2 separate regions of the Homo sapiens genome follow, and region 2 is linked to region 1. Evidence: promoter capture Hi-C in 16 types of primary human blood cells and fetal thymus (Javierre and others, 2016). All regions are on one chromosome and are shown on one strand. Each heading gives the region's core, a stretch centred on a gene start or on the middle of the fragment in contact. The rest is flanking DNA. Distances are from core to core; before and after follow the strand shown.

What was found. The method cuts DNA at HindIII sites, captures the fragments that hold promoters and counts their contacts. A CHiCAGO score of 5 or more calls a contact.
Region 2: a fragment that was not itself captured here is called in contact with the fragment with the promoter of NXT1 in region 1 in 1 of 17 cell types (non-activated CD4 T cells); the score reaches 6.8 in non-activated CD4 T cells.

Annotation. Positions count from the first base shown.
Region 1 is chr20:23,348,763-23,353,689 of GRCh38, reverse strand. NXT1 (nuclear transport factor 2 like export factor 1) reads right to left here and starts at 2,899. Exons shown (of 2, transcript NM_013248.3): 1 at 2,629-2,899. NXT1-AS1 (NXT1 antisense RNA 1) reads left to right here and starts at 2,223. Exons shown (of 3, transcript XR_937384.2): 1 at 2,223-2,360. RefSeq lists enhancers at 2,048-2,097, 2,154-3,025, 2,964-3,258, 3,178-3,317, 3,026-3,898 and silencers at 2,588-2,857, 3,478-3,607. The HindIII fragment of the contact is 12,471 bases long and covers 1-4,927 here.
Region 2 is chr20:17,570,081-17,575,007 of GRCh38, reverse strand. DSTN (destrin, actin depolymerizing factor) reads right to left here. Exons shown (of 4, transcript NM_006870.4): 1 at 4,797-4,927. The coding sequence starts at 4,799. Among named protein-coding and RNA genes, the nearest start is that of DSTN, 2.5 kb to the right of the region's middle. RefSeq lists silencers at 4,493-4,782, 4,803-4,927. The HindIII fragment of the contact is 938 bases long and covers 3,209-4,146 here.

The DNA of each region.
Region 1 (4,927 bases), core at 1,650-4,149:
CACAGATTCAGCCAACCTCAGGGCGAAACCTGCAAATACGTTGGGCTGACTGTGCTATGCCATTTTGTTTTTGTGACAGTCTCACTTTATCACCCAGGCTGGAGTGCAGTGGCGCGACCTCGGCTCACTGCAACACCTGCCTCCCAGCTTCAAGCGATTTTCTTGCCTCAGCCTCCCAAGTAGCTGGGAATACAGATGCCCGCCACCACGCCTGGCTAACTTTTGTATTTTTAATAGAGACAGGGTTTCGCCATGTTGGCCAGTCTGGTCTCAAACTCCTGACCTCAGGTGATCTGCCTGCCTCGGCCCCCCAAAGTGCTGGGATTACAGGCATGAGCCACCATGCCCGGCCTTAACGCCATTTTATATCAAGGACTTGGAGCATCAGCAGATTTGGTCTGTTGTGGGGCTAGGGGGGCTGCTGGAATCAATTCCCAGAGGATAAGGAGGCCTGATTGGACCACGAATTTTTAAAATCACATTTTATAAAATAGAGTACATTTGAGTATGGAAGGCCACTCTTTCCTGAATGCTTGCAACAGACATGACAGCCCCTTGGTAAAGACAGTGGACCATGTTGAAGGGAAGAGTGGTCACTGGCCCAATAAAGGCCAACCAAACCAATGAAATGCTCGTCAGCTGCTGAGTCTAGGAAAGTCTATCATGAGCTCACTCAGGAGGAACTGGGAAGGCAGAGAAGGCAGGTTTCTTAAGAGGGTAGAAACACAAATGACATGAGGACAGAATCAAAATGGCAGCCATAATCCCCATGATAAGCTAGAAGCAGCAAACCTCTTGGGTGAGTGGGGATTAGAAGGGAGGACACCCAGCTTACACAGGTACTAACATCCACCAGATAAGTCCTGTGGAGTCACAGTGCCTCCACAGAAAGGCATGTTAGATTTCAAAGCTCTTGGGTGTGTGGACACAGAATATGAACTATAGCTGAAATGTCACATTGTCCCCCAAATAAAAAAGTCCAAAAGCATTTAAAAAATTGACATTTACTTTTTTCAGGGTACAGGTACAACTGTTATGTTCTTTTCTCCATAATTAAAATATTTCACTTAAAAAAAAGAGGACATTACTAAAATAGAGGACATTACTAAAATAGTTTATACTTACAAACTTAGTGAACAGTTTTTTTTCATTTCAAAAAAAAGACTTTTTTTTTTATAATGATTAGCTTATGAAATAAATAAAACATTCCACATAGGGCTGGAAAGAGCCAGGTACTTATAACGGCTGCAAAGATGGTGCATTGCCTCTGGTAAAGGGCTGGCTGGGAGGGAAGCTGTCCTAAAAATGAGCAGTTAAGAGCCAATTTCAGACGTGGGTCTTTCCACGCCCTCCACAGACCTCATAGTTAAGCCTCAACTGTACTCTGGACTGAGTACAGTGGTCCCTCGGTATCTGTGAGGAACTGGATTCAGGACCCCCGAGGATACCAACACCTGCAGATGCTCAAGTCCCTGATAAAATGGTGTACTGTTTGATATAACCTATGCGCAGCATCCTCCTATATACCTTCATCATCTGTAGGTAACTTATAATACCTAATACAATGTAGATGGGATGTAAATAGTTGTTATACTGTATAGTTTAGGAAATAATGACAAGAAAAAAAAAGCCTCTACATGTTCAGTACAAACGCATTTTTCTTTTTCTGAAGAATATTTTTGATTTGAGGTTGGTTGAATCCACCCCACGCGGAACCCACGACTAAGAAGCGCTGTGTTTGCTAAGGGCTTCACACAAATTACCTCATTTAAATGTTACCACAAATGGATGAAAAAGGTATTACTATAACAATTTTACAAATGAGAAAAGGGAAACCTAGGGCTGGATCAAAGTAACGACGGTTAAGTACACTCCTGATCTATCGTTTACAAGACTAGACTGAGGGCTGAAATTTTGTCAATACAACGCTGTCCTTGTACTCGCGTAAGCAAGTCTCCATGAGCACAACTCCAGGACTGCTAGAGTGGGAATTTTCTCCCAGGGACCCCATTTCTCTTTGGCTGGAATTCCCGATCTCCACCTCACTCCTCCTCCCTCCATGGCACCAGTCCCCCCATCATCTCAGAAATGCCCCTCTTCTCCGCCCCTGGCTGTCTTTCCAAACACAATCTAACAACTGGCCACGCCCCCACACACCATAGAAGGACCATCTCCACTTACGGTTTTCAGCTACCTATGAGGTCGTCAGTCCCGCTGTCTGTGTCAAATCAGAAAAAGAACCTGACCGTGAGGACTAGAGTAAGAGGCTGTGAAGACTGCCGCCTCCTCGCACGACCCACACCGTCGAGTGTCCGGAGATGGACGGGAAAAGCTACCACAGTGGCATGGCCTTATTTCCTGTGAGTCGCCTTTAATTCAAACCTAGACAGACGCACGCCCTGCCCGGCCCTCCTCAGACCCGAGAGCTGCGCTGTGAGGGGACGCGCCTCCCCTCGTTGATGAGAATTCGCTGCCACGCTTTTTGCACAGGCGAGAGCCTCACCGCGGCGGCAACTCTACCACGTGGACAAAGGCACAGCCGTGTCTCATTCTCGACAATGGAGGAGGGCGTGGGGTATGCACTAGGGGCTGTCTCGGGGGTCAGACCGCCGGGGGACGGCAACGTACCTGCGCGGCGACGTCCAGGGTCAGCGCGGGCCGCGGCCCCCACGGTCGGGACGCCCCCCGCGTGGGACGCAGTTCCACTGAGGGGCCGGCCGCGGAGGTCACAAGGTGGGCCCACCGAAGCCTCTGGTAGGGGCACGGGAAGAGCCGCCTTTCTCTCCTCCTCCTCCTTCTTGGAGGCTTACTCTGGGTCACCGGGGCCCCAGAGCCGGGGGACTTTCCGGCGCAGTTCCGCGGCTTCCCGCGCGCGGCCAGCCGGTCTCCACGCAGACGCGAGCGCCCCGGCGCCGCCCTCTCCCGCATTCCCGTGACGGGCAGCGAAGTCAGCCAGTGGGACTGCGGGCCGGAAGGCTAACTCCGCCCATGTGTGGCTTATAAGAGGCGGTAGCTTCCGGGAGTGTCACTTTCCCAGAAATCCCGGCAAATCCGCCCTAGAGTTTTCGTTGGTCCAACCGGGCCACAGACTCCGGCCCGTCTGGTTAGGTGGGATGCCTGATTGGGCCAAACCTCTTAGGTCCCGCACCTAGAGCGGGGAGTAGCGTCTGCTTTTTTTTCCGCTGAGCGGAGGCCGCTAGGCTGGAGAGGGAGGGGAAGGTGTGTGGGGTCGGGTGAGATGCTTTCCCCTCGTCCCGCATGCGCCTGTATTGGAGTGATTTCAGTTAAAAGTCTCGTGAAACGTCACCAGTGATGTAGTCACGGCCAGCAGCAGCTGCCTGACCCCGCCGAGGCCTTCCGTCTGGCAACATGTGGGGCGCCGCAATGCTTGAGGCCACGGCGAGGGCAACGCCGGCCGCGCCCCGTGGAAACCGCGTGGCGGAGTGCTTGAGCCGATCGCGCTCTTTAGGAGTTAGGCCACTTAGAGGCGACATCTTGGTGGACACGGAGGAAGCCAGTTTTAGTCAGATGGGAAAAGTAGCTAAAAGTGGGAGGAGACTGGGGCGAGGGTGGGACGTGGGGGAGGCGGGGGCGTGACGGCGGCTCTCCACTGCCCTGAGGCTTGAGGGGCCCCGGGAAACCCGGGCCCGGCTGGGGTTGGGACTCTGTTCTTCCGCGTTCATAGCTACGATTCAGCTGTTCTGGAATGAGAACTGGATTTTTACTGAACTTTACGAACAGGCTCAACAGGATGTAACCATTCAGTGTGGAGGCATGAGAAACTATAGCTTGTAAATTAAAAGAAAAACCTCATTTCTTTAGACAACATTTTCAGCTCCATCTGCTGGTCTGAGGCTGAATAATTAATTGAAAAGCCAGGAGAGAAATGGGGCTAGATGAAGTGAGGTAGTTTAACCTGTGCTTTCTTGGCGTCCCGTCGGCTCCCTTTGCTTGCATTCCTAAGAGAATCTTGGTCTCAGATTTCAGGACAAGTGGAAAACAGTTGGGCTATTTAGTATAGGCCACCCCTTCCCCCCCGCACCCTCTCCCCCCACACACTTCAGTTAAGTAGGTGGAAAGTTTGGATTATTAAAAAGACACGTTGGAGGCTGAGCAGAGAGTGTGAAAGAGCATTTTCGGGGCTTTGTGAACTAACATGGCCTTTTGAACCCCAAGGCAGTGATACTTGGATTGATCTAAATCAGCGTGGATGGAATGGAAGTGGGAATGCGTTGATTTACTGCACGCTCAGTAGTTTGGATGCTGTGCTGCTTTTGTTTCCTGTATAATAAGCCCCTTTAATTTGTTTCACATAACTTATTGGGGGAGGTACCATTATTTCTGATTTTATAGACAAGGAGGCTGACAAAGAACCATCCTGGTGTCACAGGGTCGATTCATACCTAGAAAAGTATGAAGATTCATACCTAGAAAAATTAGAAGAACATTAATGCAGCTCCAAGGCCTTTTAAAAATGCGAGACTTTAGCTTTGAAAGGCAGCTGTTCTGCCTTTTAGGTTTGTGGGGTCTGCCTTTTAGGTTAGGGTCCTTTTAGGTTTGTGTCTCCAGCATATAAAATTGTGCCTGACCCAAAGCAAGGGCTCAATAAATACTGTTTGAATGAACAGACAAACCTGGGTTCAAATCATGCTCCTCAACTGCACAGTTGTGATGATCTGTCCTCAACACTCACTCCCTGCTCTCTTTGGAAGCAACCCTGGCTTTTATTCCCCCTATTTGTAGCAGGACAAGCCGCAGACAAAACCCCTCAGAAACCAAGTTAAAGAAGGAAGGGCTTTATTCGGCCAGGGAACTTCAGCAAGACTCACGTCTCCAACAACCGAACTCCCCAAGTGAGCAATTCCTGTCCCTTTTAAGGGCTCACAACTCTAAGGGGGTCCACGTGAGAGGGTCATGATCAATTGAG
Region 2 (4,927 bases), core at 2,428-4,927, 5.8 Mb after region 1:
GTGCACATCTGTAGTCCCAGCTACTCCGCAGGCTGAGGTGGGAGGATCATTTGAGCCCAGGAGATCAAGGCTGCAGTTGAGCTCCAGCCTGGGTGGCTGCAAGAGAGTCTGTCTCAAAAAAAAAAAAAAAAAAAAAACAAAAGAAAAGAAAAGAAAAAGAAAAGAAAGAAAAAAGAAAGGAAAAAAAGGAAAGGAAAGGAGAAAGAAAAGAAAGTCAGTCATGTTTACTTGTTTTGCATGTTTGTTTTTTAGACTTTTAATTTTTTTTTTTTTTTTTTTTTTGAGACTGAGTCTCGCTCTGTCACCCAGGCTGGAGTGCAATGGTGCGATCTTAGCTCACTACAACCTCCGCCTCCTGGGTTTAAGCGATTCTCCTGCCTCAGCCTCCTGAGTAGCTGGGATTACAGGCACGTGCCACCACGCCCAGCTATAGACTTTTAATTTTTTAGAGAAGTTTTAGGTACACAGCAAATTTTAGCAGAAGTGCATTGTTCCCATATATCTACTGTGTGTGCTTTTACATTTTGGCTAGAAGAACTGCCAGGAAAGAGAGGGGTAAGTGTAAAGTGAAGGACATTAATCTCCACAGCCCTTGGCAAAGAAGGAAAGAACTCTGTCCTAAGTCACTCTACATTCTACCACTACCAGGGGCCTAAAAATGGCAGGTGGATAGAATTAACAGAGAGTATTGAACTTCTGGTAATTAGCTGGCTAAGGGGCCTGGAAAGAAATTTATGTGCCAGAAAAGAGAAATATTACTCCTCAGTATGAGGTTCTGGTATTGATAATCATGTTCTTGTTTTTTGAGACAGGGTCTCCCGCTGTGGCCAGGCTGGAGTGCAGTAGTACAATCATAGCTCACAGAAGCCTCTAACACCCAGGCTCAAGCAATACTCCCACCTCAGTCCCCCAAATAGCTAGGAGTATAGGCACATGCCAGCATGCCCAGTTAATTTTTATTTAATTTTTTTGTTCAGACAAGGTCTCACTATATTGTCCAGGCTGGTCTCCAACTCCTGGCTTCAAGCAATCCTCCTGCCTCAACCTCCCAACGTGCTGGGATGACAGGTATAGGCCACTGTATCCAGCTGATTTTTTTTTTTTTTTTTTTACTGCTACATTTACTTTATGGCTCTGCAAATAAGCTTAGGTGAAGATGGTAAGTATTTACAGAATGGCCAGGTTTGCAGGATGCAGCATGCGTGTAAAAACCTAAGATGCAATAAACATATGAAAAGAGTCAGCTCACTAGTAATCAAAGAAATGCAAAATAAAATAATGAGAAACCATTTCACAACCATCAGACTGGCAAAGGTTTCAAGTCTCTTATTAAGTGGTGAAAGGCAATGTAGAAACAAGCTGTTAATGATGAGATACAACCAGAACGAACCAGTAGTAGAGTAGAAAATATGTATGCTCCAATCCAGGGCTTCCGCTTCTAGATATACACCATGGAGAGATACACACTGGGGCTAGAGAAGTAATATATAGCAATATATGACATGGAAATTGCCTATTATAAAAACTTTAAATAGACCAAAAAAAGGCAAAAAATTAGGAAATGGCTGAATGTCTATCAACAGGGGAATGGATAAACTTGCACAATCATACAAAAGAACACAATTCAGCAGTTGAAGAACCAAAGCTACAAATAAATCCAAAAGCTGCCCTCCCCTGGGAAAAAAAAAACCACCCCCACAAAGTTTAATTTTTTCTCACAGAGCTGCAAAAGGATACATGAAGCACAGTATTTACGTAAGTTTTAAAAGCACATCAAGGCAATACATATGAATGATTAAGTAGCTAAAAGTATGGAACTATCAATGAATATCAATTTCAGGTGACTACTGTGAACTTTACCTGAGCTCTGTGTTCTCAGAAAGCAGTGATGGTTAATCCACCCCACCGTTTTGTGTTCTGGGAAACAGGTAACTGCAAAGAACTGGCCTGTTGCATATTTTCAAATAAGGCAATCAGGAATGCTCTCCTAATTGCAATAGCCTGAATAAAATCATCTCCTTAACCAGCCAGGATATTATGTCTTTGACACAGGAATGGTTATAACTCTAGGGAGGGAAGGGAGTGGGATGAGGAAGATGATGCATATTTAGCTGTAATGATAACATAAAAACCTGAAATATGGCAATAAGATAGCCCTGTTTTTCCTGTACAAAAGGATCTGTTATTCTGTGTACTTTTCTGCTTAAAATGTTTCAAAATTATTATTTTAAAACTTGGAGTTGGAAAAGGTGATTTGTCTCAAGTCAATTAATCCTTTACAATCTGTTTTCTCATATGTTAAATAGGCATGTGAATACATGCCCAACCTATTTCACTGGGTTGTAGTGTTTTTGCTAATCACCAAGTATTAGAATACTTGAATACTGCGCCAATTAGTTCAGTCTGTGAGACCACAGTCCAGATTAGGATAAGGTTAAGGGTTAGATTATCGTGCAAACCTTTTAACTCTACTTCAGGGGCAAGACTACACTCTTACTTTCCAAGAAGCATAAAAGATACTCTGGTTACAAGAGGAGCTAGGCAAGTCTAGGTGTGATGTCTCAATCCATATCCAGTAGAACTACTGAGCAAATAACCTTAGTAACTTGATGATGGGCTACTAAACAATCTCTGTATAAGGAGGCTGGCACACCCAGTACACACACACACACGTTTTGTTTGGGGTCTGTAATTGTGGTTCACGTGGAGGCAGACGTTGTTTGTTTTTTGTTGGAGGAGACATCTGAAAACATCTAATCTCATCCTGAAGCGCCCAGCTGGTTTCAAACTGCTTTATTTCAGGTGCTTCTAAAAGACTTGGTGAGTACAAGGAAGTGATTCTGCTAATTTAGAACAAACCCATCGGTAGTTAAAATTTAATCTTAAAAGAAACTTGGAACCAAGCATCTAACCAAAAGAGCTAAAAGCAAAGTGCTAGACTCTGGGATAATACCCACAATATTCTCTAATCACTGAACTAAACAAAGATGCTCCTGCGCTCATAAGGCTAAAAACAAAAATAACCTTTAAAAATGGGGGGTCTATAATCTGAACTCTAAGAGTAACTTGTAAGGTCTTCTTGATCTCCCTAAAGCCAACAATTTTGAAGCGTATTTGGAAATCGCTCATTTCTAATTTTTATTTCTCCCACTCCTCACAAGAACCAGGAAATATAACAGACCCTTCCTTCCTTGAATTTAGTTAAGCTTTAACTAAAACTAAGCATTTAACTAAAGGTAAAATGTTTGGTCTCTTATTTTCAAACAGAAAAATAAAGTCTGTATTAGCCACTCAATAAAAAAGCATAATGTCAAATCAGAAGTCTCTAGAGCAGACCCTAGTCAGCTTCAAAGCACTTTCACAGAGTGAATGGTCTTAAGCGTACCATAACTCAAAGCCCCTAGATTAAGTCTTTCAGTATAAAGTAGCATATACATTTAAAATGTTATTAAATTTCTAATAATTAGATATTAAAAAGACTCAAGATGCTGATACTTTGTAGCTTACAGCATTAAACCAAAGAAGAACCAAAAACTGAACAGTATCAAATCCCTATTACATACATATCTACAGTCATCAAGAAACTACCGGTTTATCTTTTCTTTCACTAAGGGGCCGCCTGCATGTTCACGGAAGTTGTAGTAACTTAAGAAAACCAAAACTGTTATACAGTGAAAACAGTTTGTATGCAGATAAGCTGGTACCAACTGCTTCTAGACAGATGCAATTACAGTGTAATATTTCTAGCAAAGTCTGGTAAGGCTACGCCTGCAAATCACTGACCAAAAATGGTAACAGTGTGTGCACACTAACGAAAACGACAAAATGTTCCAACTGATAGTTCAGTTGAGAATACGTTTTTAAATAGCTAATTAGAGTGACAGTGTAAAGGGGGAAAATATGTAAATTAAGCAAAATGTCCATCATATAGAATATACTAATGAGCACCTGTTTACTTTCTGGTGACTCCAGTATTTTAATGGTTTTTAAAGCTCTTAAATTTGGTTGTATCAGCATCCCAGCATCATGCCCACACCTTGCGCACCAAGTTCTGGCAGAGTCCAACTGTCTACAGGTCAGAAAAAAAATTCTAACCATACACGGACAGATCGGGCAGGGAAGGGTTAAAACAGACACTGCCAAGCTTGACAAGCACGACGAGAGTGCTGCTGGAAGCCGATTGCCAGATAAAAAGAAAAAAACAAAGGAGCTGCAAGGCCACCCCGTTCTAAATCATGCCAGGATCCTGCTCGTTAGCGATCATTCCGTGCTCTAGGACTGTTCCATAAAGGCTTTATCTTCCTTATTGAGATGGACAGACCTCAAGGGCTGGAACGCGCACAAGTCACCAAGCGCCTCAGCGCCAGCTCTGGGGAAACCCACGCCAACAAGGACGGTGGCCGGATTCCGACGCCCCCCGCCCCCCACTCCCCGGCCTCGGTGTGCAGACCCCCGGATGGATTTCACAGAGCGGGTGGGGGCGCTCGACCCCAGCCAGTTGTTGCAAGGCCGGGTCTGGAGACACCCGCAGAGGCCACGCTCAGGGCGGCGGCCTCGCCCCAGCTGGGAGCTGCGCAACAGCCGCGGATCCACCCCGGGGCGCGGGGGCCCAGCCAGGACGGCGGGAGACGGAGGCCCAGAGACCCCCCCTCACCCGCAGCCCGGACACTGCAGCCGGACCGGGTCCCTCCCCGGGCTGAGGCACGGCTCACCCCCTTAGCCCCGACTCCGCGGCGCCCCAGAGACACACTGCTCCCGGCCGCCTCGGCCCACGCCTCGGCCTCCCTCCTACTCACCATCTTCGCCGCGGCGGTCGCAGGGACGCGGGGGAGGGAGCCGGCGGGCAGCGAGTATGCAGACCGTCCTCCTCACGGCTGCGGGACCGAGAGACCCAGCGCTGAGCTGACGCGGCGGCGCGAGCTTACCC